7 separate regions of the Homo sapiens genome follow, and all the other regions are linked to region 1. Evidence: promoter capture Hi-C in 16 types of primary human blood cells and fetal thymus (Javierre and others, 2016). All regions are on one chromosome and are shown on one strand. Each heading gives the region's core, a stretch centred on a gene start or on the middle of the fragment in contact. The rest is flanking DNA. Distances are from core to core; before and after follow the strand shown. Region 1 holds the start of NIFK (nucleolar protein interacting with the FHA domain of MKI67). Region 2 overlaps PLEKHB2 (pleckstrin homology domain containing B2). Region 3 overlaps PTPN18 (protein tyrosine phosphatase non-receptor type 18). Region 4 holds the start of HS6ST1 (heparan sulfate 6-O-sulfotransferase 1). Region 5 has its middle 3.2 kb from the start of UGGT1. Region 6 holds the start of IWS1 (interacts with SUPT6H, CTD assembly factor 1). Region 7 holds the start of ERCC3 (ERCC excision repair 3, TFIIH core complex helicase subunit).

Evidence for each region. Contacts are between HindIII fragments. The CHiCAGO score rates a contact against its expected background, and 5 or more counts as called.
Region 2: a fragment that was not itself captured here is called in contact with the fragment with the promoter of NIFK in region 1 in 2 of 17 cell types (total B cells and fetal thymus); the score reaches 11.5 in total B cells.
Region 3: a contact is called between a fragment that was not itself captured here and the fragment with the promoter of NIFK in region 1, in 2 of 17 cell types (non-activated CD4 T cells and total B cells). The highest score is 17.4, in non-activated CD4 T cells.
Region 4: a contact is called between the fragment with the promoter of HS6ST1 here and the fragment with the promoter of NIFK in region 1, in 1 of 17 cell types (total CD8 T cells). The highest score is 8.5, in total CD8 T cells.
Region 5: a fragment that was not itself captured here is called in contact with the fragment with the promoter of NIFK in region 1 in 4 of 17 cell types (activated CD4 T cells, naive CD8 T cells, non-activated CD4 T cells and 1 more); the score reaches 12.9 in activated CD4 T cells.
Region 6: a contact is called between the fragment with the promoter of IWS1 here and the fragment with the promoter of NIFK in region 1, in 2 of 17 cell types (non-activated CD4 T cells and naive CD8 T cells). The highest score is 8.3, in non-activated CD4 T cells.
Region 7: a contact is called between the fragment with the promoter of ERCC3 here and the fragment with the promoter of NIFK in region 1, in 4 of 17 cell types (naive CD8 T cells, activated CD4 T cells, non-activated CD4 T cells and 1 more). The highest score is 7.6, in naive CD8 T cells.

What each region holds. Positions count from the first base shown.
Region 1 is chr2:121,735,142-121,739,448 of GRCh38, forward strand. It overlaps NIFK (nucleolar protein interacting with the FHA domain of MKI67), which reads right to left and starts at 1,734. Exons shown (of 7, transcript NM_032390.5): 1 at 1,605-1,734; 2 at 472-609. The coding sequence starts at 1,709. RefSeq lists an enhancer at 1,621-1,670 and a silencer at 1,771-2,220. The HindIII fragment of the contact is 3,379 bases long and covers 1,434-4,307 here.
Region 2 is chr2:131,105,634-131,109,940 of GRCh38, forward strand. All of the region lies in intron 1 of PLEKHB2 (pleckstrin homology domain containing B2), which reads left to right. Among named protein-coding and RNA genes, the nearest start is that of PLEKHB2, 2.5 kb to the left of the region's middle. The HindIII fragment of the contact is 1,206 bases long and covers 1,435-2,640 here.
Region 3 is chr2:130,368,168-130,372,474 of GRCh38, forward strand. It overlaps PTPN18 (protein tyrosine phosphatase non-receptor type 18), which reads left to right. Exons shown (of 15, transcript NM_014369.4): 6 at 966-1,034; 7 at 1,598-1,660; 8 at 1,881-2,023; 9 at 2,390-2,456; 10 at 2,538-2,615; 11 at 2,708-2,797; 12 at 3,032-3,120; 13 at 4,090-4,307. Among named protein-coding and RNA genes, the nearest start is that of PTPN18, 14 kb to the left of the region's middle. RefSeq lists an enhancer at 3,663-4,290 and a silencer at 4,017-4,307. The HindIII fragment of the contact is 1,512 bases long and covers 1,445-2,956 here.
Region 4 is chr2:128,316,360-128,320,666 of GRCh38, forward strand. HS6ST1 (heparan sulfate 6-O-sulfotransferase 1) reads right to left here and starts at 2,509. Exons shown (of 2, transcript NM_004807.3): 1 at 1,678-2,509. The coding sequence starts at 2,204. RefSeq lists an enhancer at 367-516 and silencers at 1,518-1,747, 2,442-2,851. The HindIII fragment of the contact is 4,073 bases long and covers 1-4,027 here.
Region 5 is chr2:128,085,874-128,090,180 of GRCh38, forward strand. No RefSeq gene overlaps it. Among named protein-coding and RNA genes, the nearest start is that of UGGT1, 3.2 kb to the right of the region's middle. The HindIII fragment of the contact is 4,939 bases long and covers 88-4,307 here.
Region 6 is chr2:127,524,390-127,528,696 of GRCh38, forward strand. IWS1 (interacts with SUPT6H, CTD assembly factor 1) reads right to left here and starts at 2,100. Exons shown (of 14, transcript NM_017969.3): 1 at 1,786-2,100. The coding sequence starts at 1,819. RefSeq lists enhancers at 1,310-2,009, 1,340-1,419, 1,430-1,489, 2,020-2,079, 2,340-2,389 and 1 more and silencers at 1,670-1,779, 2,421-2,594. The HindIII fragment of the contact is 4,097 bases long and covers 1,586-4,307 here.
Region 7 is chr2:127,292,152-127,296,458 of GRCh38, forward strand. ERCC3 (ERCC excision repair 3, TFIIH core complex helicase subunit) reads right to left here and starts at 1,993. Exons shown (of 15, transcript NM_000122.2): 1 at 1,903-1,993; 2 at 1,362-1,567; 3 at 459-695. The coding sequence starts at 1,930. The HindIII fragment of the contact is 2,323 bases long and covers 1,018-3,340 here.

The sequences.
Region 1 (4,307 bases), core at 484-2,983:
AACCTTTGACTAAATACTCCCAGGAAGTTTTACTTATATTTAACAGATCACAACACTGAAACATGGTAAGGTCATATCACTCTAACTAGTAAGGTGTAGAGCCTGACCCCAAACCTCAGCAGTCCAACTCCAGAGTCCTCACCTTTAACTATTCACTATATAAACCTTTGCTATTATAAGGATGCTTGTACCAAAGGCTAACACAAGAAAATGTATAAACCTGGGCCTCATACTAAAGCTCATTTACCAGGACTGTCAATTTAATGTAAGGATTTGGAGAAATGTAAAAAACAAACTTTTACAATAATACTGATTTTGCTCCTGTAGCTGTTTCAGATTCTAAACCTCCTCCACTCTCCTTTTTGGAATGAAATCTGATAAGCAATAATGTATGCGTGAACGTGCTCTTTAATGTCAAGGATAATACACATTTGAAAAACAAAACATTAAATCCAACTGCAAAAATCTTACCCTTTTACTTCTGGACAGCCTGAACCGTGTCACAGTGCCAAACTGGGAGAAATATGAAAAGATCTGGGTTTCGTCAAGTAGGTTAGGTAGGTGGCGCACATAGACTACTCCAGGAGTAAGTTGTTCTTGTTTTTTTCGCTAAAGACGTAAAGACCAGGTAAATTAAATATATAAATAAGAAAATCACATTGTAACAAAACCCCTAGCCCTCGGCCCAAGAACCTATTCTGCATTTCCACTTACCACAGTAGTAATTAAAGAACTGGCTGTTTAGTGTTTCTCTCCCCACAAAGGCCATGGTCAAGCAGTAGTCAACTATCTTTCCAGCCTGGCATCCCAGCACCCAGTATAATATTAGAGCTCAATAACTATGTCAATCAACGGATAAGCAAGGACATCTTTGAACAAGCCATTTTAGATCTTCTGCCCAGAGAACTCTACATAAACGTAGGCTTCAATTTGGTATGCATATTACTGTTTACTCGCACTTCATCGAAAAATTTTCGATACGCTTGTTAACTCTCACGGTACAGATTAGCCTTTCAACGTCTCAGTCATCATAGCCTTACCTCTGTAACAGGAACTTCTAAGTTTTCCTGTGTATTTTATGCTAAAAACCACAGAAAGTATAAGCGATGTCAGGGGCCCTAGTCAGCAAGTGGAACCTGGCAAATACTCTATTTTAATAACTCCCAGATCACCAACCCGGCATACAAACTTCCCGAATGTGTTAAGTCTGGGGCTCCCATTTTTGGGGGAAACGCGGAAGCGTGACAGCTCTAACCCGGAGATAACCTGTGGTATAGGAGCCTATTCCCTCCAGCTGGTTCTTTCTACTGCTTCTGTCACCCCAATACTTCCCCGTTACCCTCCACATGAAGGCTCCAGGGCCTCAGCGGCCAAACCCCTCCATCATTTACCGAACAGCGTAAACCCTTTCGTCTCGGAAACCGTGGCCTGCAAGCTTAAGAGGTCGGTCCCTGATTCGGTCGAATCCACTTGGGAGACCCTGGAGGTAATGAAGGCGAGCACGAAGGCAAGGGGCGCCCGGGCCGGAAACCGTGCAACCCCAGATACCCTCTAGACCCGGTCCATCGCCCCCGCTCGCAGCCTGGGCCAGGGTGCCTGCTCACCTGGGTTATGCGCTTGCGAACCTGCGCCACCTCCTTTTGAAACTCGACATCTTCCTGCGGATTAAGCGACAGGATTGGCCCAGCCGGGCCAGAAAAAGTCGCCATGCCAAAAGCCGCCGACGCTAACCACGCGGCGCTCCCGGAAACGTCGGGCTCCCAGCTCCCCCGAGGCGGAAGTAGAGGCAGGACAGGGGCGGGGCGAAGCGCTAAGGCGAGGCGAGGCGTGGCGAGGGGCGGGGAGGGCCATGAGTCGGGCGCGGGGTTGGAGCAGGAGTTGCCCGGAGAAGCGGGGGCGGGGCACGGGGTGTGGCGAGGCGCGGGGCGGGGCATAAATTGCGCCAGGGGCGAGGGCGGGGCACGAGGTCGTGCCGAGAGACTGGGAGAGGCGTGAGTCGCGCGGAGGCGCGACATGGGGCGTGACGAGGAGCGGAGGGCGGGGCGTGAGTAGCGCCGAGGCGCGGAGGCGGGGCGCAGGGGCGTGCCGAGGCGCGGCAGCGGGGTCTGGGGCTGGGGCTGGGCCGTGGGGAGCTCCCGCACCCTCGGCTGTCGGGGCGCCGGCTGGCTTCGCTTAAGAGTGCCTGAAACAATTACGTTCACGCCTACTTTCAAAAAAGGTCTAAAATAAATTCCAAAACAGTACCTGTGTCCTTGAGATGCTGCTCTCATTCCTCAATTTGCTTATTATTATTATTATTTTTTTTTGAGACAGAGTTTCGCTTTGGTTGCCCAGGCTGGAGTGCAATGGCGCAATCTCGGCTCACTGCAACTTCCAACTTCCGCCTCCCGGGTTCAAGCGATTCTCCTGCCTCAGTCTTCCGAGTAGCTGATTACAGGCGCCCGCCACCACTCCCAGCTTAATTTGTACGTTACCACTCCCAGCTTAATTTGTATGTTTAGTAGAAACGGGGTTTCACCATGTTGGCCAGGCTGGTCTCGAACTCCTGACCTCAGGTGATCCACCCGCCTCAGCCTCCCAAAGTACTGGGATAACAGGCGTGAGCCACCGCGCCCGGCCCTAATTTGGTTATTCTTTCACTCACTTGTGTGTGAGCTCTCCTGTGTGGCCCCGTCCGTCCGCGGCCCTTGGAGAACTTACAGCCTGAGGGCAGCATGGCTGCTTTAAGAGACCAAAGAGGCTTGTGGGGGAGAGGCACACTGGGTGGCGCCGGAGGGTCCCCCTTAGGAGGTGGCGTTAGCACCGAGGCCTGAAGGCTAAAGAGCGGGGTGTGGAGAACCGAGCGCCTGCCGTCCGCTGGACCGGACAGGCCTGCACAGTGTTCCTAGGTCTAGAAAGAAGGACGCGGCAGTGGGGTTGGAGCCCAGCACAGGAGGGAAGAGCTGCGAGGCGGCAGGCTGGAGCCCCATGACTGTGTGTCAAAGTATGAAACTGGGGTTTTGTAAATGCGAGGGGATGGGCGGGTTTAAAGCGAGGCTGTGGCTGTTTGCATCTTTCTTTTCTTTTTTTTTTTTTGAGACGGAGTCTCGTTCTGTCGTCCAGGCTGGAGTGCAGTGGCGCGATTTTGGCTCACTCACTGCAACCTCCGCCTCCTGGGTTCAAGCAATTCTCCTTCCTCAGCCTCCCGACTAGCTGGGACTACAGGTGCACACCACTACTCCCGGCTAATTTTTGTATTTTTAGTAGAAACGAGGTTTCGCCATTTTGGCCAGGCTGGTCGAGAACCCCTGACCTTAAGTGATCTACCCGCCTCGGCCTCCCAAAGTGCTGGGATTACAGGCGTGAGCCACCGCACCCGGCCTGTTTGTACCTTTCAAATACTATTATACTAGTGAGTAACTGAGTGGAGAGGAAGGGTGGGGAGTGGATTGCCGAGGAAGCAGGGAGGTGAGGCGAGAGCGACAGATCAAGCACAGCTGGTGTCAGGGGATAGCTGCGGCCGTGTTCTGGAAGCCGTGAAGGCGGCCCAGGGTGTGTGTGCCCGAAGAGTGGCCTGTGGGCCTGAGGTGGAGGCCCTGGGAGGGAGTGCCAAGCGAGGCCAGCCCACTTCCTCTGACAGACGTGCCTCCCACGCTCACAGTCTTCGCCTCCTTCACCCCTGCACCCTCCGGCTCAGCGCCACCGTCACCCCCAAGGGGGCATCCCTGACCCTGTAGCAAAGTCAGTTCTTCCAGTTAAGCGCTGTCTTCCCATTGTGTTTTCATGGGTAGGCTGGATTTTCGGGAGTGAGCGAGCAAGAGCAATTTGATTCTTTTTCAGGGCTGCCCCTTTCCATGGGCTTGTTCTTGCTCCCCCCAGGATGAAATCTTGGGGAGAGCTCCGCACTTGTGATTGCTCCTCAGATGTCAGTCAATAGAAGCATGTTCCACGCGTTCAAAATCTAATATCAAATGTCTCCTCTCCCCAGCTCAGTGTCTCTGGCAGAGAAATCCCCAAAGGGGAGCACAGTCCACATCGTCTTTATTCTTGGCTCCACTTTCTCTGTACACCCCAGTTTCTGTTTTTGGGCTTTCCAGGATTAGGACAGGGAAGAGAGGGAGGAGAAAGCAGAAAGGGGCTCCTTGCTGGCAGGTGCCACGTGGCCAGGGAGTTTTAGAGGCTGCAAATGCCAGGTTGCTGGCACCTTGTCTCCAAGCACACTTTTGAGGTGTCCCTCACCTGGCTGCTCATGACTCTACCTGCCTGCCAGCCGAGGTCAGCTCTGTGCCCAGAGGCTCCTCCTGGAAGGGCCTTTCCAAGTGGACTTT
Region 2 (4,307 bases), core at 788-3,287, 9.4 Mb after region 1:
GCAGCCCATTCGAGAGCCCTCCCAGTGGGCCCCCCCGGCCTCTCAGACCCCTTCCCATCGCTTCCCCGGCGTCCGCCTCCGGTCCTTTCCCCGAGCCCCTCCTCTCCGGCCCCGCGGACCCTCCTCCTTTCCCGACTGCAGCCTCCGCCTTGCATCCTTTCTGGCCGCTCGGGAGTGTCCCACATGTCTGACTGCCGGGACCTGCTGCGGCCCGCCGCCTGGGGTCTCCCGGCGTCCGATCTCTACCCCTGCTGCTCCCTCTGCTCCAGGGAACTTGCCTTCTCAGTTCTCCTGCCCAGAGGTCTCCCCTCCTTAAGTCCCGGGGGGCGTTGAGGCTTTACCCTCGCGGTGCGGTCCGCCCCCGCTGCATTTCACCTGCTCTTGGCCTTGCAATGTCTTTAGTCATAAGTGCTTGGTGTACCTTATCTTACATATCTCTCTTCATGTTTGATTCTGTTACTCAACTAGATTGAAAACTCCGGAGGTCAGGGATTTGCATAGGGATCCCCGCCCCGCCACCCCGCTTAAATCTCAAATGTAGACCGGTTCAGGGTGGGTGGAGGAAAGGAATGAGGTGGAGTGGTCACTGTAAAAAATTAAAGGAACATGGTTAATTCAAAATAATACTGACTCATGGTCTCAGCCTTTAAATTTTTAGTGCTTAGGAAAGGGTGGAACCACCACCGAGGGAGGAGGGCTGACAGCTGAGGGGAGGAATATTCCAAGGTCTTCTGTGGCCTTTGGTATGAACCAGTACCAATTCAGGAAGTGACTTGTCCGAAGTCACATGAGGAATTAGGACCCGAGCTGGCACTGGTAACTGCCTGTTTAGTGTGGCCCTCAGTATTTGTTGACTAAACTAATGACCAAAACATGTATGCACAGACACAGCTGTGCGTCTGTGCCCATGCAGTGGGTGTGTCTGCCTAAGGACCTGTGGGGGTGTGGGAATACTGCTGTGACGGTTCAATTGTGGTGCTCAGGAGTGTTCCCTAGGTTCAGAAAGTTCCTAACCCTGGGCTGGTTGGCTGGATATTGATAGGACTGGAGCTTGTCTGGGCTTCCTTTGTGCCTGGTGTTTACTCTCTGTGGTGGTGATCTCTTTACTCGACTCTTCCCTATTCGTACTGATCTCCCTGAGGACAGGAATCAAACTGTGTTGCAGGGTTTCCCTAATAAACAGCATAGTGTTTGGCACTTTGTAGGTGGTCAGTAAATGCTTATTGAAGAAGGCTGCAGAAAAGAACTCAGAACCTGACAGCGGTTCTTTGCTAGCATTATATTTTAAAGGCGGTGGTACATTCTGTAAGTAAATTTCCTGCTATTCTCAAGGACTGAGTTGATTAAATGTGTACAGCAGTGGTATAGAGAGGACAGATACTCTTGTGGTGTTACTCCTTGGGAAGGTGGAGGTTTCTCTCAGCTCTTTCTGAAAGCTTTGCTTATGCTTTTCAGCTTGCATTAATATTTTTGTTTCTCCTTTCCTCTGCCTGCCTTCTTACTGTTTGTCTAAAGAAATTAAAGAATTACCTTATTAATAACAGTAACTACCAAAAACTGCAAAACACACTGTTAAAAATGCTCCCAAAGTGGGGGCTAATTGACCCAGTTGTTTTGTTAGTTATATATTTGCTTCCACAGTGGATCATGGAAACGGAAAGTTGGACTTCCTTGCCTCTTTGCTTTCTTTGCCTGTCTGCCCTTTGATGGTGCTTGTATTAGGCTTGTTGTTAAGAAGTGGTTCCCAACTGGAAATGGCCAATGCCACGTGGGAACTGACCTCTACATGTTGATGGGTCACCCAACCTTCTTTCCCTTCTGTTTCAGAATGTACCTGTGACATCTCTTTGACTCTCCACTGTTGCCCTTGAAGAACAGAGATGAGTTTTCTTCCTTTTTCATAAGGAAGCCACTTTTATAGCGAAAGAGAGCTGGAGAACTGGGATATCATGAGGAGTTGTAGACAGTTAAACCTGAATTCTAGCTTTTGGAACAAAATAGTAATGTAATTGTAGCAGTTCTCACTTTTTTATTTTTTATTTTTTTGAGACGGAGTTTCACTCCTGTTGCTTAGGCTGGAGTGCGATGGCGCAGTCTCGGCTCACTGCAACCTCCGCTTCCCGGGTTCAAGGGAGTCCCCTGCCTCTGCCCCCCAAATAGCTGGGATTACAGGCGTGCGCCACCATGCTCGGCTAATTTTTTGTATTTTTAATAGAGATGGGGTTTCACTATGTTGGTCAGGCTGGTCTCGAACTCCTGACCTCAGGTGATCCGCCTGCCTTGGCCTCCCAAAGTGTTGGGATTATAGGCGTGAGCCAACGCGCCTGGCCAATTCTCACTTTTGGACCATCTACTACAGGGCTGTTTGGACATACCTCCTTTAATTGTCACAGTAACCCCATGACGTAATTGGTTGTGCCTGGTCATACAGGTAAGAAAACTGAGGCTTAGAGAGGTTTAGAATTTTGCTGAAGGTCATACTAGTGAGTAGAAGGCAAAGTAGGCTTCAGGCTTAGAACTGTCAGATTCCAAAGGCAGTATTTTTTGTCCATCTGTTGTCTGTTTCGATTCAATGCTTTCAAAGAGATACAAATTCAAATTTAAAATAATTTAAATTGTTGAATATGGCTTACATTTTAAAGCTTTGCATAGGTTTTATTGGCATAAAAATAATGTTCTTTTGCAGCTAGTTTGCTGGTGTTTTATTCTCTAGAGACCAACAGCTAGGGCTTAGTGTTTATCTGATGAGTTTTAGTTTATGCATTCAGTTTTGCTCCAGGATATAAATAGTGAAATGTTGAATTAAGTTATGGAGTGGTGTGAAATTCAGCATGCTAAGGCAATCAAACAGAAGTCTTCTGAGCCATTTGAGAAGCAGCTTGATGTCCTTGTTCTTAGAACAGGGCTGTCCAATCTTTAGACTTTCTTGGGCCACATTGGAAGAAGGCCATACATAAAATACACTAACCCTAATGATAGCTGATGCACTAAAAAATAAAATTGCAAAAAAATCTCATAACGTTTTAAGAAAGTTTACAAATTTGTGTTGGGCTGCATTCAAAGCTGACCTGGGCTGGGGCCATGAGTTGGACAAGCTTGTTCTAGAATATTTTCGGCAAATTTTGGTAAGGGGGAAAATAAGTAATAGTAATAATAGTAGTAAATAGTAATAATTGCTGTCAAAGCAGCTACCATTTATCGAGTTCTAGTAACTGTGAGGCACCATGCCAACTACTTACATATTATTTCACCCAATTTTCCGAACATCCTGTCAAGTAGGTGGTGGGAATTTTCGTTTTATAGATCAGGCTTGGAAACGTGACTTGTCCGATTGAGTCAGGATCTGAACATAGGTCTTTTAACTCTAAAGCTTATACCCAAACACTGGGTTCTGTGAAATTTCAAAAGCATATGATAGGCTGACTGCAGTGGCTCATACCTGTAATCCCAGAACTTTGGGAGGCTGAGATGGAAGAATCCCTTGAGCCCAGGAGTTCGAGACCAGCTTGGGCAACATAGTGAAACCTCGTCTCTACAAAAACAAAACAAAATGTGATCAAAATCATACTTCATGATTTTTGGTTTCTAAAGATACTCTCTAAATTTCTCTCCCCAATTTAAAAACGAAAGCAGAGCACTGTTGGAAGGTTCAAATAGGTAGATTAATTTAGGTTGGTTTTTTTGTTTTGGTATAGTTGAAGATAATTCAGGTTATTGTTTACATGTTTACATTTATCAAAATAATACATGTACATAGATTGAAAGACCAAATAGGCTGAGCGTGGTGGCTCAAGCTTTTGGAGGCCAGCACTTTTGGAGGCTGAGGCGGGTGGATCCCCTGAGGTCAGGAGTTTGAGACCAGCCTGACCAACGTGGTAAAATCCCGTCTGTACTAAAAGTACAAAAATCAGCTGTGCGTGGTGGTGGGCGCCTGTAATCCCAGCTACTTGGGAGGCTGAGGCAGGAGAATCGCTTGAACCTGGAAGGCGATGGGTGCAGTGAGCCAAGATCGCGCCACTATACTCCAGCCTGGGCAACAAGAGCGAAACTCTGTCTCAAAACAAACAAACAAAAAAAACAACCAAATAGTGCTTTAAACCTTAGAATAAAAAAAAATATATCAATCTCTTGTCCACCCCCTTTTTAAACTATAGACAACTATTTTCACCTTTTTTTGGCACTTTTTAAAATAGTATTTTGGCTGGGTGTGGTGGCTCACACCTGTAATTCCAGCACTTTGGGATGCCAAGGCAAGTGGATCATGAGGTCAGGAGATCGAGACCATCCTGGCTGACACGGTGAAACCC
Region 3 (4,307 bases), core at 951-3,450, 8.6 Mb after region 1:
ATTTTTGCTTCTTTCCTGAACTGTTATTTCTGGGCCCTTTCCTATTGACTAATTTTTCTCCTGGTTATGGGTCACACTTTCCTGCTTCTTTGTATGTCCAGCAAAATTTTATTGGATGCTTGATATTTTGAATTTTGCACAGGTAAGTGTTGGATTGTTTTCTTTAGAGTGTTTTGCCTTTTCAGGAACTTTTGGATGGTTGATCAAGTAGCCTTTGTTCTAGAATTAATTTAGCCGTACTTCTAATGTGTGGTCATTCTAGGTTCCCTACTAAATGCCCCTTATAGTTGATAATGCCTCTACACTCTAGCTAGAGGGAATGTGAATTCTTTCTCATCATGAGCTCAAGGAAATGTTCATCCTACAGATCCCTACTATTCTTTCATGGTAAGTTATTCTTGCCTGGCCTCATGGGGTTTCATGTTGTATATATTCAGATTATTCAACCAAAGAATCAAGGAGGGGACTTCTATGCAAGTTATTGTTTTGTTTTTATTTGCATACCTCTGTTCCTTCCAGGACTCTGCCCTGCAAATTCTAGCTGCTTTTGCCTCCTTGAGCCATGGTCTCTGGCTCAACTCAGTGGGATCATTAGACTCATGTCTTACAGCCTGGTGACACTTCCATGCAATAAGCCGGAGTGGTCTGTTCAGTGACCACAGTACTGCAACACCTGCCAACCAGTGTCTGAAAATAGTGGCTCATGTATTTTGTCCAGTTTCTAGTTGCTTACAGTGGGAGGGTATCCTGGACTGTATTTCCCCTGCATGGTCAGCAGCGCACCTCCATTGAGTCTGCATGTGTTTAATCTGATGGCTCTGTTGGCTGGCGTCTGTTATAGGTTATAAGTATAGCTGCCTGTGCTTCCACCACGAGCACCTGGGGTGTCTTGTGGCATGATTGAGCTAGCTCTGAAGCTGACTCCCTCTTCTCACTCCCTGCCTTTTCTCCCTTACCTTTTGCAGAAAAGGTGTGAGCGGTACTGGGCCCAGGAGCAGGAGCCACTGCAGACTGGGCTTTTCTGCATCACTCTGGTGAGCTGTGGGAGTTTTCAAGGAAGATTCCCAGGGTGGAAAGGCTTTGGGTTGGGCCTAAAAGGTTGAATGATTTAACCCACAGTCCACTCATACTGCAGGAAACCCTCTGGTGTTAGCCTGCAAATAGTTAGAACTTACTATAGGGATAGCCTTTGCATTTTTATTTTGGCTACAATCAGTTAATCTCTGTCATGTAAATGTGCCTGGTTAGGTTGTTGAAATTCTTACTTCTCTTACCATTTCAAAAGAGCTTGGGGAACTCTCTCAAGTCATACATACAGTTAGTACTTAATAAATGCAATAAAAGTTTCATTTTAGAACAAAAGACATCTCTTTTCATTGCAAAAGGGCTTGTGTTTTTATAATAGTTCCTCTTTTGCTCCTGTGTCAAATGTTTCCTTAATGAAAGCTTTGGGGAAAGTTTGGGCTATATGAATTTTTAAAATGTTTTCTGTATTTGATTTTTTAATCAGGAATGCTTTGCTTTCTATAAATGTCTTCTGGTACCTATGATCTTTGTTCTCCTCCCTCTTCTTACTTGCCCCACCCCCCTTACTCAGATAAAGGAGAAGTGGCTGAATGAGGACATCATGCTCAGGACCCTCAAGGTCACATTCCAGAAGGTACTGTGACAGGGGAGGAGGAGGTAAAGGGGCTCCTGAAAGGGGAGAGGTTTCCTCTCCTGTAAAAATGGGCATCATACTAGTACCCACTTCCTCAGTTATTGTCTGGTAGACATAAATGGAAGATGCCTAGAAGTGGGCCTGGTGTATAGTAGATGGCCAATTAATGCTTTTTTCTTTTTTTTCCTAAGTCTTTTGCTCATCTTTTTCTGTGTTTCAGGAGTCCCGTTCTGTGTACCAGCTACAGTATATGTCCTGGCCAGACCGTGGGGTCCCCAGCAGTCCTGACCACATGCTCGCCATGGTGGAGGAAGCCCGTCGCCTCCAGGGATCTGGCCCTGAACCCCTCTGTGTCCACTGCAGGTTTTGGAAATGGGCTTCAGGAGGGTCTGGTGAGGCAGAGGGGACAGAGCATGGAGGGGAGTACAGGGCATGGGGCTAGTCTTGTAGTCTGAGTGCCTATTTTGAGAACCCTTGCTCACCCTCCATGGACTGTAATTGTGAGCACTTGTTCAGCACAGACTCAGCTGGGGAATAAGCACACAGCTCTTGCTCAACAAAATGTAAGTGATTAAAAAGGTTTTCCTTGTTCAGATATAATCTGAAGATTCTGGGAATCAAGAGGCTCTGCAGGGGATCCATCAGGACCCTCACCCCCATCCCCAAATGCCCCATCTAAAAGGGGTTGTGGTCAGGACCTGACCAGGCACACTCTGATTCTCTTGTCAGTGCGGGTTGTGGGCGAACAGGCGTCCTGTGCACCGTGGATTATGTGAGGCAGCTGCTCCTGACCCAGGTACGATACAGGCATCCTGTGTGTGCAGTGTGCTGCCCATGACCACGTGTCCTGCTCAAGTGCCTTGTCTGTCTGCCCCAGATGATCCCACCTGACTTCAGTCTCTTTGATGTGGTCCTTAAGATGAGGAAGCAGCGGCCTGCGGCCGTGCAGACAGAGGTGAACCCTGGGTCTCCTAATCTTCAGGGACAGTGGCCCACTGCTGTCATTTGCCCCTGCCTTCCCTTCTTGATGGTCCCTCACCCCAACAGGAGCAGTACAGGTTCCTGTACCACACGGTGGCTCAGATGTTCTGCTCCACACTCCAGAATGCCAGCCCCCACTACCAGAACATCAAAGAGGTACAGAGGCTCCTTTCCCACTCTCCTGTCCACCATCAGCACCCTCAGAGACCAGGACCCCGAGCAGGGTCCAGCCCCCGGGACTACTGGGAGCAGGCACTGACTATGACATCCACCTGTGCCCTCCTCCAGGCATCCTTATCAGGCTCTCCCATCTTAAGCTTTCTCCCAGAGCCCCTTGAGAGGCCTGGCCAGCTTCCTCCCTCAGGAGCCTCCCCTCCTGTTTTTCTTCAGAATTGTGCCCCACTCTACGACGATGCCCTCTTCCTCCGGACTCCCCAGGCACTTCTCGCCATACCCCGCCCACCAGGAGGGGTCCTCAGGTACCCGGCTCCATCCCCGGATTCTTCCCTGCCCAATTTCTCAGGCTAACCCCTTCTTCATCCTTGGAACACCAGTCCGTTCCTTGTTCACTTCGCCAAGTGTTCGCTGGCCCTTTCTTCGAATTGAGCTCTGGGAACCCACCCCAAGATGATTCAATTATCCCAAGATGATTCATTTACCCCTTGCCTCTGCCTCTAAGGCTTGCCCTGCCTTCTGAGTTAGGCCTTTCCTGGATCCTCTAATCAAACCTTAATTCAGGTGGCTCACCCCTGTAATCCCAGCACTTCGGGAGGCCAAGGAGGGCGGATCACTTGAGCCCAGCTGGAGACCAGCCTGGTTAACATGGTGAAACCCTGTCTCTACTAAAAATACAAAAATTAGCCAGGCGTGCTGGTGAGAGCCTGTAATCCCAGCTACTCCGGAGGCTGAGGCAGGAGAGTCGCTTGAGCCCGGGAGGTGGAGGTTGCAGTAAGCCGAGATCGCACCACGGCAGTCCAGCCTGGGCGACAGAGCGAGATCCTGTCTCAAAAAAACAACAAAAAAAATTCAGCAAATAATTCTAGACGCCGCCTTCTTGTCAGGCCGCACGTTGGGTGCTGCGGACATGGGATTGAGCCGCCTTCGCAGCGGAGACTTAAGGCCCTTGTCCTTGCGGCCATCCCTTCCTGTCTTCTATGCCACTTCCGCATTCTTTTGTTCAGTAGACGTTGACACAGAAATGACCACCCCTCAAACCAACACTCTGCCCCAAATTACCCTCCAGGCTGACCCCGTTCCTCCTTCATCCCCCTAACTTGCAGGGCGCTAGGGACACAGAAGCGAGGCCTCCAACCCAAGGAGCCCTCCCTCCCATCTAGCGCACCGCCTCGGCGGGAAGGAAGCCCGTGGTTTGCGCGCTGAGCAGCCTCCCCACTCCCGCCCTGCCCAGCGCCGCCGTTTCACTTCCTCCCGGCCCTCCCTGCCTGCAGGAGCATCTCTGTGCCCGGGTCCCCGGGCCACGCCATGGCTGACACCTACGCGGTGGTGCAGAAGCGCGGGGCTCCAGCGGGCGCCGGGAGTGGGACGCAGACGGGGACGGGGACGGGGACGGGGGCGCGCAGCGCGGAGGAGGCGCCGCTCTACAGCAAGGTGACGCCGCGCGCCCAGCGACCCGGGGCGCACGCGGAGGACGCGAGGGGGACGCTGC
Region 4 (4,307 bases), core at 1,259-3,758, 6.6 Mb after region 1:
AAAGGGGGTGACCCCCATCCTTGCACCCCCCACAGGTAGGGAGGCGTCTGTTGGTATTGGTCAGTGACCAACTCTGGGAGCCTACTGCTCTGACTGGTGGAAGGGTGGGTGGGGGCATGGCTGTGGTCCCAGGCACAGCTGAGCCTAGCACAGAGAAGCTGGACCAGGGTTAGGGGGGCCCTGCAGCAGGAACGTGCATCTGTGCAGAGCAGACTAAGTGCTGGGCCGGAAGCAATCCTTCAGGGGCCCTAGACAGGCAGCTCTGTGACCGCCAAGTGTAGAATGTGGCTGTAAGAGGCTCAGAACATCACCTCCCAGGCTGGGAGCTGCAGTGTGTGTGTGTGTGTGGGTGTGTGTGTGTACAGTTGGGGGAGGGGGGAGAAAGAAAAGTGGGAAGATGCCCCTCCAACTCTAGGACCCCAATTTCCTGACAGCCTGAGAAAGACCACAGAGCAAGGATTGAGGTCTGTGCAGGGGAGCAGTGTCTCGGACTCTGCTCAGCTCCAGGCTGGCTGGACCTTCCAGGCTCCCCAGGCACACCTGAGAGCCTACAGCCTCTGGACCCAAGAGTGCCAGCCAACACGCCTACAACCGCCCAGCCTCCTACCACCAGCCTGTCTGCAAATTCAGTCCTAAGGCAAATTTGGAAGAGAAACAAAAGGCAGACAAGAAGCCCTGCTCCTGGCCCTTCCCAGCCCAGACTTTGGGGAGAAAGGCCCCGCAGGGCATCCCTGCAGGACGAATGGGCACCAACAGGAACAGGAGGAAAATAACCCCAACTTTAACTGCTGGAAACCCAGCAGCACCCCAGGTTCCCCTACAAACGGCTTCCCAGAAGAGCTGCCCCGGCACCCCTCCCATGCTCTGTGTCCTCACGCAGCTCAGCTCTGACATGGGGCTGGGGGACCCCAGAGAAGGGGTGTGGCAGCACAGGTTCCCTGGACCAGCTCAACTACCCCCAACCTGGCTGGTAGCTTCCTGGGGAAGGTGGTCCCCCATCGGGTGGCTTTTGTTCCTCTCTCCAGGCAAGCCTGTGCCTGGAAGAATTCGGCTGGCAGGCCCCACTGGGAGGACAGGCGGTACTGCCTCCTCCCCGCCCCCAGCCCCAGGTCAACAGGGCCTTTGTTCTACCTGCACACACCGGCAGGCAGGCGGGCAGAGCCAGCCCCCTTCCCTGGCAGCTCCCCCACCCTCTGAAGGCAGGCACTCCAGGCACAGGGGCGGCACCTCACTACTCTCACTTCCACTTTTGGGACCACAGCACCGAAGCGGCACGGGGAAGCCAACACTCCAGGTAGGCCACGCACACACCCAGAAGCCCGCGTCCCCAAGTCCGGCGGGCCAGACCTCACGGCGCACAGCAGGTAAGGTGGCCCGAGGGCAGCGGGCGGGGACCCTGGAGAAAACCCGGGCGCTGCGCAGTCAAGCCGGCAGTAGGGCAGCACAAGGCAAGGAAGAGAGTGAGAGCGAGGTCAGAAAGCGCGGTGACAGCCGGCTCACCCAGAGGAGCTGGGAGCCTCGGGCGCTCGGCAGGTCGGGAGGGGTGCCGGCGAGTGGGGGCCCCCAAGAGGGCAGAAGGGGGTAGGGAAGGCAGGGCCGACCCAGTACAGCACGGCGGGCATACGGCCCGGCCTCGGGGGCGCAGCTGCGCGAGGATCCCGCCGCCCGGGCGCTCACCTGGGCGTGCGCAGCGCGGCGGAGTCGCGGCGGTCCAGCACGCCGGGCACGCAGTTGGTGAGCTCGGTCCAGTCGGCGTGCAGCCCGCAGCTCCAGCCGGTGGAGAAGCGGGAGAAGAGCCAAGTCTCGCGGCGGTTGGGCCGGTAGCAGGTGCACTTCTTCTGGCCGGGCCGGCAGTCGCACGGCACCTCGAGGCGTACGTTCTGCACGAGGTGGCGGCCGAAGGTGGTGCCGCCCGTCTTCTGGATGTGCAGGAAGACGATCACGTCGTCGCCCTTCATGTCGAAGCGCAGCGAGCGCTCCAGCTCGCGGACCGGGAAGTAGTACTTCTTCTCGTAGTGGGGGTCGGGTGTGGGGAACAGGTCCAGGTCGTCGGGCGGCGCGCGGCCGCCGGGCGCGCCCAGGCTCAGTCCTGGGCCCGCGTACTGGTACAAGATGAGCATGAAGCACACCGAGCCCGCCACCACCAGCACGAACTTGCTGGCGCGCTCAACCATGGTCCTGCCGCCGGCGCGCCGCCGCCGCATGTGTCACCATCGCCGGGGCCCGGGCGCGGGGCGCGGGGCCTGGGAGGGCAGGAGGCGCGGGCGCAGCTGCCTCCGCCGCCGCCCGCGCTCCGGCCCGGCCCGGCTACTCGGCGCCCAGGCCGCCCGCAGCGGCGCGGGCCCCGACCCTCCGCGGTGCCATGGCTGCTCCCCGCCCGGCCCCGGCTCCCCGGGCCCGACGCCCGACTCCGCTCCCGCTCGGCCCCGCTCCCGGCCCCGGCCAGCACAGCGCTCTCCGCGCCCCCAGCACCAGCCCGCTCCGCTCCACTCCGCGCCGAGAACGCTCTGCGCCGCCCCGCGCGCCGCCGCGTCTCCGCAGTCCGCCGCCGCCGCCCCGCCCCGGTCCGCCCCTGGCCCGCCCCCGTGGCGTCTCTTGCCGTCGCCGCCCGCGCCGATCCTCGGCCCCGCCTCCGGAGTGCCGGGGTTCGCCGCGGGTGCTGGGCGCGGGACCTGGGTCTGCTGCGGTGGCGAGGCCGCTAGCAGGCGGGCAGCCAGCGACTGGGAAGTGATTCCGCCCTCAGGGGAGTGGGGGACCAACCGGCAGTGCGGAGCCGAGGCGTGGGAGGCTCTCCTGGCGGGGGCCGCGGTGAGGGGGCGCGGCGGCTGGCGCTTCTGGAGCCTGGGTCCGTACCCCCTCCTCCCCAAGTCCCAGCCGCCCACGTCCCCGCAGCCCGCGCGGGAGGAAAGGCCTTGACCTTGCACGCTGGGGCGCTGAAGTTAGACGCTAGCCTACTGGGCTGCACTTCCAGGGACCAGGGCGGCGGGGGCCGCCCACCACCAGGACCGAGAGGGAAAGCGAGGCTTTCCTTTCCTGCTCGACCCCCTCACCCCTGCGGCTGGCTTTGGGACAGTGCCCCGCAGCCCCGCATTGAAGAGATGTTGGGCTGTCTGCAGAGGCCTGCGGAGCGGCTTTATGGCTTCCTCCTTGTTTGAAAAGAATATCAGACGAGGTGCATTTTCCCCCATCCATGTTTATTATACTCCAATGAAAGAGTTATAAAACATTGAGCCAATTCTTAAGAATCGTGAGTGCCCACCAAATATTCTGTCTTTCGTGGGTTGGTTGGAGAGTCCAGCGGCCCGGGCCCAACCTGGCTGCGGAGGGCTCGCTCCACGTTGGCTCGTGTGTGGGCCGGGTGGTGCGGGCTCCTCACTCGCCGCCGCCCAGCCTGGCAAGCACGCGCGGCATTCGTGGGGCGGGGGGTCCCGCCAGGTGCCCACTCACACTGCTTGGGCTCTGGCAGTACTCGGAGGCTGCAGCCCGTCGGAAGCGCAGGAGTGGGGCTGGGACCTGCCAGGATCTCACAGCTGCAGGGCCGGCCGCGGTGGGCCCTAGTGTGTTGGTTCAGGCCAGCGAGGGCTCTGGGAGCGAGTCTGGCTGCCAGGCGTGGGCTCCCAGTGTCCACGTCAAGCCCTGCCGGGGACGGGGTGGGGGGGGAGGCGGGGTGGTGCCCTGCCTTCCGTTCTGTTAGGGACCGGAAGCGATCATGGGGTGTCAATTATGCCTCAGTAAAGCTGTTAAACGTAGACAACATCACACCAGAAAGCCCTCCTGGAAGCAAACCCAGAGAGCTGGAAAAACCAACACCCCAAACCCAGCTGAGCGGGCGGCATGCATTTTCCAAAGGGACCGCAAGAATATCCGCTGTGGACAGGCGGGTGCAGAACCCTCAACACAGCCCAGCGCACCCTGGAGTCCATGGTGTGGGGTCCTCAGTGGGACCTAGGGCCCCAAAGCCCCTGCTCATCTTGTAGGCTGCTTTAAAACTGTCCCTGGCCCGAGGGTCCTGGGGGCAGCTTGGACAAGCTTCTCCAGAAGTGACTCATTCCTATAGGAGTGGGGGTGCAGTCCCCATGGGACACAGGTGGGGCCGCCCTGCAGTGTGCTTGGACCTGCCTGCAGCCCCTTGACGCAGTCTGTGCCTGAGCCCTGGGGAGCCTTCCTGTGTGGCCTAGGGGAGCACAGCTGCCCCGGGTCCACCCCCCAGATGTCCTTACCCAGATAAGGATCCTCGTGCTACATCATAATTAAGGCTGCTCTTTTGGAGACCTGCTGGGTGCCAGGCATTGTAGAGGTGTCATTTC
Region 5 (4,307 bases), core at 1,307-3,806, 6.4 Mb after region 1:
AAAACAGGTTTAATTGGCTCACAGTTCGGCTGGCTTTACAGGGAACATGATGCAGGCATCTGCATGGCTTCTAGGGAGGCCTCAGGAAGCTTACAATTATGACAGAAGGTGAAGGGGGAACAGGCATGTCACACGGTGAAAGCAGGAGCAAGTAAGAGAGAGAGTGGGGAGGGGTAAGGTGCCACACACTTGTAAATGACCAGATCTTGAGAGAACGCACTCAATATCATGAAGATAGCACCAAGCCTTGAAGGATCTGCCCCCACCCCAGACCCATACACCTCCCACAAGGCCCCACCTCCAGTACTGGGGATTATAGTTCAACATGAGATTTGGGTGGGAACTTAGAAACCTAGAGGATTCTATGCTGTGTCTCCAGCACCTCAAGGGGCATTTACTGATTTCAAGGCATGTCCTTTGCCCAGCAGCCACCTGGACGTGAACAGCAACAGCTGGCCATCTCAGCTGAGTGTACCTCATGGATAGAGGAGGGAGGTGCAGAGAGAAATGTTCATCCAATATTGGTTGAGCAATGTCCTAGGGGCTAAGGATGTAGCACTGAACTAAATGATGTCCCTGTCCTCATGGAGTGACACCTAGTGGGGGGTGCAAACTATCAACATACATAAAACAGAAAAAAATAGAAAAGGTGGAGGAGCGATAGTAATAGTTTGAGGACTGAACTTCAAAAAGTCAGGAAAGGCCCTTTGTTTTTGTTTGTTTTTTTGAGACAGAGTCTCGCTCTGTCACCCAGGATAGAGTGCAGTGGCGTGATCTCAGCTCACTGCAACCTCTGCCTCCCGGGTTCAAGTGATTCTCCTACCTTAGCCTCCAGAGTAGCTGGGATTACAGGCATGTGCCACCATGCCCAGCTCATTTTTGCATTTTTAGTGGAGACAGGGTTTCACTACATTGGCCAGACTGGTCTCGAACTCCTTTGAGCTCAGGCAACCTGCCCGCCTTGGCCTCCCAGTGTTGAGATTACAGGCATGAGCCACCGCGCCCGGCTCTAGTGAATAGTTCTTAGACATGTCACTAAAAGCAAGATCCATAAGAGAAAAATGGATAGACTGCACTTCACCAAAATTAAAAACTTTTGCTCTGAGAAAGATCCTGTTAAGGGCATGAGAATACAAGCTATACACAGGGAGAAAATGTTTCCAAATGGCATATCTGACAAATAACTTGTATCTAAAATATATAAAGTACCCTCAAAACTCAATGGTGGAAAACCAAATAATTAGAGAATAAGCTAGGGCATGACAAGGCATTCCACAAAAGGATACACAGATTGCAAATGACCATGTGAAAATATGCTCATCATCACCAGCCACTAGGGAAATGCAAATTGAAACCATGATGAGGAATTACTATGTGCCTATCAAAATAACAAAAATAAAAAAATAATGGCAGTACCAATTGTGGGTAAGAATGCAGAGAAAATGGATCTCTCATACACTGGTGGTGGGAATGTAAAATGGTACAGCCATTCTAGAAAATAGTTTGGCCTTTCCTTACAAGCAAAATGTACATTTACCATATGATCAAGTAATTGCACTCTTGGGCATTCATCCCAGATAAAAAAAAACTTAGGTCTAGGCCAGACATGGTGGCTCATGCCTGTAATCCCAACACTTTGGGAGGCTGAAGCAGGTGGATCACTTGAGGTCAGGGGTTTGAAAACAGCCTAGCCAACATGGCAAAACCCCATCTCTACTAAAAATAAAAAAATTACCCGGGTGTGGTGGCACACACTTGTAATTCCAGGTACTCAGGAGGCTGAGGCAGGAGAATTGCTTGAATCCAGAAGCAGAGGTTGCAGTGAGCCAGATCACACTACTGCACTCCAGCCTGGGTGACAGAGTGAGCGACACTCCTTCCCAACAAAAACAAACAAAAAACTTGTGTCTATGTAAAAAACCTTTACATAGGGCTGGGCGTGGTGGCTCATGACTGTAATCCCAGGACTTTGGGAGACCAAGTGGGGAGGATTGCTTGAGCCCAAGATTTTGAGACCAGCCTGGGTAACATGGTGAGACCTGATCTATTAAATAAATAAATAAATAAATAAATAATTTTTTTTTATTTGAGACAGAGTCTTGCTCCTCACCCAGGCTGGAGTGGAGTGGCGCAATCTCTACTCACTGCAACCTCTGCTTCCTGGGTGCAAGCAATTCTCCTGCCTCAGCCTCCCAAGTAGCTGGGATTACAGGCGCCCACCACCATGCCTGGCTGATTTTTGTAATTTTAAATAAATAAATAAATAAATATAAATACAAACCTGTACATGAATGTTAATAGGAGCTTTATTTGTAATAGTCCAGAACTGGAAAAAACCCAAATATCCTTCAATAGGTGATGCTAAAATGAATCTGTATGTTTGTACCATGGAATATTACTCAGTAATAAAAAGGAACAAACTACTGATATCTACAACTTGTATGGCTCCACAGGTGGTTATGCTGAGTGAATAAATAAATAAAAAAGCTACATACTATGTGATACTATTCATATAACATTCTAGAATTGAAAAATTTTATATTTAATGATCAAAATGATGGTTGCCACAGGCTAGGGGTTTTGGGGGTAGGAAAGTAGTTCTGACTTCATAAAGGGGTAGCACAAGGGAGATCTTTGTGGTGCTGCAATAGTTGTGGGTCTTCATTTTGGCAGTGGTTACACAAATGTACAGACATACACAAAATGATGGAAATATACCTGTCTCCCCCACACAATGTACCAAGTCAATTTCTGGTTTTCATACTTTAATATAGATATTTGAAATGTAATCATTGGGGGAATGGGCTTAAGGGTACAAAGTACCTCTGTGTACTATCTTTGCAACTTCTTGTGAATTTATAATTATTTCTAAATAAAAAGTTTAAAAAATTTTTTAAAATCTGTTTTTATTCAAATAAGGTAGCACTTTTCAGAGAAAGGTTTAGAAAAGGTGAAATCCAACTTTCCTAGAAGCTCTGTGCTACCACTTAGCTGTATTTTAAAACTAAGCAAACTTTGGTTTTGTTCATGGATCACATAGCAGAAGATCAAGATAAGGCCAAGAAAAAGTATATAATCAACTTTGTAATGAGGTGAATTAACAATTTCCTTTTTATTGAAGCATTAGCTGATGTGATTTAAAGAGGGCTAGAAAATACACTATGGAAAGCTAACACAACAGCTCCCTTGTGAAATAAATTTTAAAATGCTCATGTTTTTTTCTTTTCGTAGGTGTGTGTACACATTTAGTTTTATTGTAACAAAGCAACTTGTACACTTTTAACATTTAAAACTGAGCATGATCTTTCCTTTCCAGTGAAACAAAATTTAAAAATAAACAGGAACAAAATTACAATAGAGAATGTCAATTCCAAATAAGATCCTAGAGGTTCTGCTGATTCTCCCACTGAGTGGCAGGGCTCAAGTCATCATTAGGAGAGAATTTATTTTAAAAGCGTCATCTTAAACTGCAAGGATGTGTGTCAAACATCGCAATTAAACATGCCAAAGGAGAAGCCATGTTGTCAAAATGTCCGCTTAACCCACCCAAACATCTCAGACCCACCCTTTGCTGACTTCTAGAATCCCATTTTTTAAAGTTTTTTTCTTTTTTTAAACAAGAGAAAGTAGACAGAAAGATGTTGGTAAATGCTAACTGTCCATATTCACATAGAGACCCAGTGTACTCTCCGAGCCCAATATACAGAGAAAGCAGGAAGAAAGCTAGAATTGAATGCTCTGCTACACATGGGCCTAGAGCCCTCCAGCTTCCAGCAGGGCGAAGGGAGCAGGTTTTTCTTTTTTCCCACAGAGCTGGGGTGATGTTGATTCTATACAGTTTTTGCTCAGACAGGAAGGGATAAAAATGAATTTCGAACAGAAAGGGGTAGAGACTCTTTTCCCATTGTATTCTGCTGAAGTTATTTCCCCCAAAATAAGTTGAGAACTATAGTGTAGAGAAAAGAAACCTCAAGAACAGGGCGACTGAGCACAAGAGAGAAAAAACAAAAAACAAAAAAACAAAAAAACTGCAACTTGCTCCCAGGGACTGGAGAAAATGTAAAAAAAGGAAGGTTGGAATCCATCAGTGTTTTTTTGCTGTTGTTGTTGCTGTTTTTTTTTTTTTTGAGATGGAGTCTCCCTCTCTCGCCCAGGCTGGAGTGCAGTGATGCGATCTCTGCTCACTGCAAGCAACCTCCGCCTCCCGGGTTCACGCCATTCTCCTGCCTCAGCCTCCATCCTCAGCGTGAGCCACCGCGCCCGGCCTCCATCAGTGTTCCATTAGTCATCTCCTTCATCCTCCTCTC
Region 6 (4,307 bases), core at 850-3,349, 5.8 Mb after region 1:
TATGTTGCCCAGGCTGGTCTCAAACTCCTGGCCTCAAGCAATCCTCCTGCCTTTGCCTCCTAAAGTGCTGGGATTACACCCAGCCCCAATACTTTAAAAAATACAGAGTAAAATCGTATTTTAACCTATATACATGTATTACATATAATTACTTTTTTTTTTTTTGGAGACACAGTTTTGCTCTTTTGGCCCAGGCTGGAGTGCAATGGTGTGATCTCAGCTCACTGCAACCTCCACCCCCCCGGGTTCAACAAGTGATTCTCCTGCCTCAGCCTCCTGAGTAGCTGGGATTACAGGTGCCCGCCACCACGCCTGGCTAATTTTTTGTATTTTTAGTAGAGATGGGCTTCACCACGTTGGCCAGGCTGGTCTCAAACTCCTGACCTCAGGTGTTTGCCACCGTGCTCGGTCTACTTTTTAAAAAGTAACTTAAAAACACAAATGAATGGAAAAAAAACTATTCTGAAAGTATCAGGAAAGTGTTTTTTTGTTTTTGTTTTTGTTTTTGTTTTTTTTGAGACAGAGTCTTGCTCTGTCGCCCAGGCTTGGAGTGCAGTGGTGCAACTTCCGCTCACTGCAACCTCTGCCTCCCGGGCTCAGGGCTCAAAGGATCCTCCCACTTCAGCCTCCTGAGTAACTGGGACTACAGGTGTATGCCACCACACTCGGCTAATTTTTGCATTTTTTTGTAGAGACGAAGTAGGGGGGTGGGGTAGGGGCGTAGGGGGGTGGGGTACGGGCATGGGGGGTGGGGGTGGTGTTGGTCTCACTATGTTGCCCAGGCTGGTCTCGAACTCCTGGGCTCAAGCCATCGGCCGCCTACGCCTCCCAAAGTGCTGGGATTACAGGCATAATCCACCGCACCTGGCTTAGGAAAGTGTTTTTAAGCAGTGCATGCCTGGAAAACGCTTTGCAGTCATTAGAATTCACTGTCCTACGTAAGGAAAAGCAATGAACTCAAAACAGTAAAGGGCTTAACGCTTAAACAATTATTTAAGCACTCAAGTTTTCTTTTTAATTTTCAATTTTTGTGGGTACATAGAGGGTGTATTTATTTATGGTGTATTTAAGAACTTTTGTAACAGAACGCCCCAACAGGACTAGCACACAAAGGGAAAGCAAATGCGACGTGTTTCCCACACCAGGTTCTGCCTCACTTATCCTTAATCTCAGGTGCCAAGCACCGTGCCAGCAGAGTGGGCCCCAGTAACAGCTTACAGAATAAACAAACAGTAAAGAAAGGAGACCAAACTTCGGTGAGGAGGAAGAGGAACGATCTCAAGGTGGAGGAAAGGCACAAAAACCACCAGTAAGTGCCAGAAGCGCATTCCTTACTCTATGCATGCAACTGAAACATGGGTCCTGCACTTACGTCCGGTGTTGCAAGCAAGATTAAACCACTCCTAACTAGCAGTGAAAAGTCTAGGAAGGATCCCCCGCCCCAACGCCCCTTGGATTCTCCAACTACTCAACTACTGAAAACTCTCTTAACAGAAGACACCTCTCCTTCCCTGCACACAATAGGAGCTTAACATATGAAAGTGACTTCCCAATTTCAGCAAAAACCTTCGCCGATTCAGAAGAAAGCTTTCCCACCAGAATCCCCTCTCCAACGTTCTAGCTTCGACGCTTGCAGCTGGTCAGAGGGCTCTTGCCCTCCTCGGGCCGGGTCGCGGGAGGGAAGGTTTCGGGGGGCCTCCTTGCCCCCACCCGCGGGGTGCCAGGCCAAGCCCCGCCGAGTAACTGCTCCGCCTCCCAGCCCGGTCCCCCAGGTCCCTGCCCCACCTGACTGGTCGCCGCTGTAATATTCCGAGTCCATGGCAGGCGGACTCTCAGCGGGGAGTGTCCGCGCCCCGCGCCGCCCCCGTCACCTCCTTCCAGGCGGTGTGACCCCGGATGGCGCGGCTAAGTGTTCAGAGACTGCCGCCCGACCGGAGAACTTAACGGGTGCGGAGGGTAAGAAAGCGGTAGCGGCAAAGGCGAATTCTTTGACCTGGAAGCCCCGGCGGAAAAGGCCGTACCCGGCAGGCTGGCGGGCGGGCAGGCATGCGAGCCGGCGTTCTACTTCCTAGAAGCACCGCTGGGGCCAAAATGGCGTCTGCCCACGACCCTCAAAGGAATGCAGCGCGCAGGCGCCGCAACCCGTCAACCGGCCAATGAGAAGACGCAACAGCAATGACGCCAGGCACGGCCGGAAAGGAGACTCCTGGGAAAATTGAGCTGGAACTCGGGCTTTAGTTAAATACCTTCCTCGGGTGGATCCTGGTCTGACCCCCGTGGTAATAACGTTATCATTGATTCTTTATCATTTCCTAGATTCTGTGTCCGTGCCTTGTTTGAAGAGCTTTTGAGATACTCTTCCGAAAAATGAAGACCTGCTCAAATGACTTTTCCGTCATTCAGCCAAACCACTGTCTTTCCCGTCAGGCCCAGAGGCGCCTGGTTCCCGCCCGCAGTAGGCAAGAAAGCGGGCGTTGCTCACTGGGACTTGTAGTATGACGCCCGCGAGCTGTGATGCGTTACTAACTGGCGCGATCCACAGCGCCTCCTCTCCCGGCGTCTTCCTCTCTTTCATTCTAAACAACGATTTAATTTCCTTGTTAAGAAGCCATTTAGCCAACAGTAAGAAGTACACGTCTTTGCTTCCAGAAGGGTTCCCCTGATGAAACACCGGAGGAAGGTGAAGTTGAACTTTACCTGAGCCCTGTGTTCCTGGAAAACAGCGGTGATTAAGAAACCCCCTCATCTATTTGTGTTTCTGGAACGGCACACTGTAAAGAACCACCCGTCTCCATGTGACTCAGATAAAACGCGTGCAGATGACCCCCTTGTTTGCCTGTGACAAGGCCAGAGACCTTTCCCCTTTATTCTGAGCCTGTTAATAAAGCCAAACAGACCTTCCAAATTCCCGCTGATGATATCGAGTGATTAGTTGAGATTAGAACTCTCCTCCCCCCAACTTGTTAGACACAGAGAACATTTCCTGTTCACCTGACTGAAACTTCTCCTGATTGCAAAACAATCCCAACTGTCAATCATCCCACCTTCCTCCCTATAAAAGTCAAAACTACGCTGCCAAGACACTGATCATATCTGGAGTGCTCTCCCTATTGCAATAGGCTGAGTAAAATCCATTTCCTTACTTGTTCATTTTAGTCTTGGACAGAGAGGGGAACATTCTTGCCTTTGGATCGGAGGAGGGCCAGTAGAGGTTTAAGCAAAGACTCCCCAGGAGGTGTAGACATGTAGAAAAAGAGCCTTTTGTTACTACTGCAGATATCTGACCCTTCGTTAGCCAGTCAGAGTATGCTGGCAGAGCCCAATTATAGGCTCCTGAAGAGGACGTGGGAAGAGAAGAAAGGGGAGAAGTGGTTTCTCTCTGGAAATTCCCATTTTCCTGCAAGAGAGTTCATGGATATTCCTTTCCGAAGTGGTGGAAACAGCATTGAATCCAAATTCCTTCTTTTCAGCTGTGGGAATGACATCTTCTCAGGCAGTCTTGAGAATCAAAAGAACAAAGAATTAGCAATGCCCGAAACCGAATCACTTGATAGAAGATATCAAGGCTCTAAGCCCTCTTCTAAAGAGAAGGTGAGAGTACACCTGTGTAAATGGAGCAGGATTAATAGATCAAAATTCCAGGCGGAGGTTCAGTGGAAGAGAACCTTTTAGTTTCACCAGAGATGTAAGTCCAACAGTCAGGAAAGTGGTTGGGTTATAAACAATGCAATTGCCGGATGAAAATTACTGAATTTTAGCGTTAAAACTAACTGTACTGGTGGTTTGGAGAAAGGATAGAAACACTCTGGACACACAACAATGTTCTTAGCTCTAGAAGCCTGCAAAGAAGCATCAGATCTAATTTTTGTACTCAGAAAGCCAACAATTTAGTGAGACAGGACAAGTCTTTCAAATGAATACAGAGCCTTAGTTAAAGCAGTGTGGTTGTCAGTGTAAACACAGCTTACGGAGAGTTCCCAGAGCTCCTTCCTACCAGCTGGCTGTCCCTCCTGGATCCTGGTAGAGAAATTCTGTAGTGGCACAGATGTGTCTTTCTGAGTCTTGGCTGCCTTACATTTTCAGGACTGCCATCTCCTTACCCATCACACCCCACCCCAGTACAGTTGGCCCATGGCGGTGGTAGGGAGGCACCCAGAAGATAGGCTGTTTCCCACACCAAGGGTGCTAATGACAGAAGAATGGAGAGGCAAACTTGCAGCAGTCCACAATGCTTCCTCCCTTAACAGATAACCCAGAGACGCTGCATTCCCTAAGTGAATGTAAGATTTATTTGGAGACACTCTGAA
Region 7 (4,307 bases), core at 743-3,242, 5.6 Mb after region 1:
GGATCACGACCTCATTTAGTCTTAACTACTTTCTTACTCCAAATACATTACCATTGGATATTAGGTTTTGAAGACAAAATTTGAGGGGAACACACACAATTCAGTCCCCAGCACACTCACTTTGGGCTGCATTTCCAAATTCTCCCTGGCTACAATGGGCCTGAATTAGTAGCCCCTCTGTGTTAATACCCACAGCTGGGAGCGGCTCATGAGAAGCGTGGCCTCACCCAGAACACAATGCTGGATCCAGAGTGTAGCGGCTCATGAGAAGCATGGCCTCACCCAGAACACAATGCTGGATCCAGAGTGTAGCGGCTGGGGTAATCAGTCGTTATGCTCCCCACAGGAAATCTGAATGGCACATTCTCATGGCTGCCACAGGCTGACAACATGGAGCACCTATGCCTATTGTTACATTAGCAGGGCAGGTGGAATTGCTGGTCTCAGCTGTCACTTGCCTTAATAAACTGCATAATTCCATCAGGGACTCCAGTCTTGCTGAGCTTCCTGAGGTACTCGGTGATGTCACTGGTTTGCAGCCCAACGCTGACAGCTGCATACAAGGAGTAGGCAGTTAGTTTGTACTCATGCACATGGGTTGGTCGGCACACTGGCTCTGCAATAGCCACCAAGAAGTCTTGGGCATATTTGTAAACTGGAGAGAAGGCTTCCAAGAAGATATGGCCATCGGGAGCCTGAGAGATACCAAATGGACAAAACAGACAAGGAAACATGAGTTGCAGAGACTACTGGGCTCTTGCCCATATCATTATCAAGAAAGAATAAGCTGCCCAACACCACAGATATTCTTGCAAGCACTCCTTCAGACAACTGTGGGGCCTGTTACATTAATCAGATACAGAAGAGTAAAGAAAAATAGAAGAAAGTGTTTCCAAAGTCAACAGCTGTTTCCTACTATTCTGCACAGAGAAAGCCCATCTTACTGGCTATCCTCAAGTTACCTTTTGGCTAGATTTCAACTAAATGTATAACATTAATTATTTAAAGTAGAGCAAAAGCTTGCTACCGAACATGTCTTCCATTATTTGAGGAAACAAACTGTTACATGATAAATGCTATTTATTCGGCAGATAAAAGGATTCACTACATGGGGTAGGGCTGGGGAAGGAGTGAGAGTAAACCGAGGGGTTAGAGCTGTTGGAAGCCCAGGTCCGGCCGCCACACGTGTGCGCAACTGCTCGCTGTTGCCTTGGGCTGTTCCAACGTGTGTGGATGAAAATTCTCTCCCGGCCAGTTCTAGGGGCAGTATCCTGAATGTCAGTTTTGACTCTGAGGATGCCCAAGATTTAGCTGCCGCTCCGCACACTCCTGGGCCCTGCCCAAGCTAAGGGCATGCTTACCACCCAGAGGGGCCTGGAGGTGTGGTCGTCCTTCAGCGGCATTTGCAGCCTGTAGTCCTTGGCTCCATATTCATCCACTTTGGTGCCTGACTCATCCACCTGCTTCCCCGCCGCCGAGGGAACCGCTTCCTGAGGGTCGTTCCCCGGGGCGTCCTCTTCATCATCCTCTTCATCCTCATAGTGCCGCTTCCTGGATTTCTTCTTGTCTGCAAGATACCAACACAGAAGTAAGCCCAGCAGGAGCCTTCAGGGTTCCCTCCGCACCGCTTGGCAGCATTTCACCTGCGCCGCCGCAAACTCCTAGCTAAGAGCCACCTGCATCCCGCAGGCGTTGCGCCCCTCACCCGTCTCCCCTAGGCCGAGTTCGCTGGGCTGCGCCCAGGTCCAGCATCTCTCCCGCCCAAAGGCCTGTCCCAACGGGGTGCGCGCGGGAGGGCCAGCAGGGTCGGCCGGCGCAGAGGCCCGGAGCAGCTCCGAGGCAGAGCGGGGGGCAGGGCCGGCAAGGGCAGTCGTGGCTGAGCGTGCCCGCGCAACGTCTCACCGCGGTCCGCTCGGTCTCTTTTGCCCATGGCAGCTACAGCAGCAGAGAGAAGATGACCCCGCTCCCACAGGCCCGCCGCGGCATCCGCTCTGGGGGGACTTCCGGCTCAATCCGGAAGCTCCCTGTTGTCCACACAGGATGTCCCGCCTCTAGGCGCCGTGATGTGGGTGGCTGGAAGAGCGGAGAGCCAGCGACCGCCGATCTGTTAGCTCGTGCGACCCAGCGGCGGGGGTCCTCCACTGTTCATTTCTCTACAACTGAAGGAAAATACTGTGTGTTGAGCACCTGTGTAGTGCGCGAATTAAAGGCCTCATCCTTCTGGAACTTAAATTTTAATGAAGCCATGTGGGCAATAAATGTGTGTGTGAGAGAGAGAGAGAGAGAATGTGACCTGAGTCCATGGGTAAGGAAGAATTCTTTTTTTTAATTAAAAAAAATTTGGCTGAGCACGGTGGCTCACGCCTGTAATTCCAGCACTTTGGGAGGCTGAGGTGGGTGGATCACTTGAGGTCAGGAGTTCGAGGCCAGCCTGGCCAACATGGTGAAACCCCATCTCTGCGAAAAATACAAAAAAAAGTAGCCAGGCATGGTGGCACACGCCTGTAGTCTAAGCTACTTGGGAGGCTGAGATGGGAGAATCTCTTGAACCCAGAAGGTAAAGGCTGCACTGAGCTGAGATTGCACCACTGCACTACAGCCTGGGCGACAGGCCGAGAGTTCGTCTCAAAAAAAATTTTTTTCTTTTTTTTTTTTTTTTTTTTGAGACGGAGTCTCGCCCTGTCGCCCAGGCTGGAATGCAGTGGCGCGATTTCAGCTCACTGCAAGCTCCGCCTCCCGGGTTCATGCCATTCTCATGTCTCAGCCTAAATAAAGCAGATTACCCTCAATAATGCGGGTGGGCCTCATCCAAATCAGTTGAAGGCCTTAAGAGCAAAGACAGGTTTCTCAAGGAAAAAGGAATTCTGCCTCCAGACTGCAACACAGAAAGTTCTGACTGAGTTTCCAGCCTTTGGACTCAAAACTACAACATCAACTCGTACCTGAATTCCCAACTTGCCAACCCCCACAATTGCATGAGCCAATTCTTTAAAATCAATCAATCAATCTCGCTTGCTCAGTGGGCCTCTTGGTTCTGTTTCTCTGGAGAACGTAACACAGATTTTTGGTACGGGGAATAGGGTACTGCTGTAACAAATACCTAACAATGGGGAAGTGGTTTTCAAATTGGGTAATCGGTAGAGGCTGAAAGAATTTTGAGGCGCATGATAGAAAAGCCTCTATTGTCTTGAAGAGCCTTGGTAGAAGTATGGGCATTAAAGGTGATTCTGGTGACGGCTCAGATGGAAAGGAGAAATATGTTATTGAAACTGGAGGCAAGTGGTAGAGAGCTTGCCTGAATTGTATTCTGTTGGGTGGAAAGTAGAACTTATAAGTGATAAGCTTGGACATTTTGCTGAGGAAATTTCTACATGATGGTTCAAAGTGAGGCCTGGGCCAGGCGCGGTGGCTCACGCCTGTAATCCCAGCACTTTGGGAGGCCGAGGCAGGGGATCATAAGGTCAGGAGTTCAATACCAGCCTGGCCAATATGGTGAATCCCCGTCTCTACTAAAAATACAAAAATTAGCTGGGCGTGGTGTCGCGCGCCTGTAGTCTCAGCTGCTCAGGAGGCTGAGGCAGGAGGATCTCTTGAACTCAGGAGGCAGAAGTTGCAGTGAGCAGAGATCACGCCACTGCACTCCAGCCTGGGCAACAGAGCAAGACTCCGTCTCAAAAAAAAAAAAAAAAAAAACTGAGGCCTGCTTTCTCCTTATTGCTTATAGTGAAATGTGAGAAGAGATACACTGAAGGTGGAATTATTCAACAAAAAGGAACCAGAACTTGAAGATTTGGATCATTCTTATACTCACATTGTAAAAAAAAAAAAAAAAAAAAAAAAAAAAAAAAAAAAGAGAGAGAGAAAGTATGCTCTGGAGAAACACTAAGGATGTGGACAACCATTTATTTGCAAGAGATTAGGTGTGTGGCTTATAGACCCAATCACCCATCTCCACAGAAACCTGGACAGTTTTGACTAGGGTACATAGATGGGATGAAATGAAGGAAGGCTGTTGGACTCCCAGGATTCCACAGGTAGGAAAGGGATTGGCAGGGGCAGTTCAGAGGCCAGTGAGGCTGCTTCCGCCACCACAGGACTGAAAGGGACAGGCTTGGGTTTGAACCCACGGCCACCACCTCCTCAGTTCTGAGGGTGCGGGGCTGCAACCCCAGTGGGCCCTGAGGACAGAGGATCAAGCCAGTGAGGATTATTCTCAAGCCTTAAAATCCTGTCATTGGCCCTGTTAGGTGTCAGACTTTCTTGGCACCTCCAAGTCTTTTTCCTTCCCATTTCTCCCTTTTGGAATG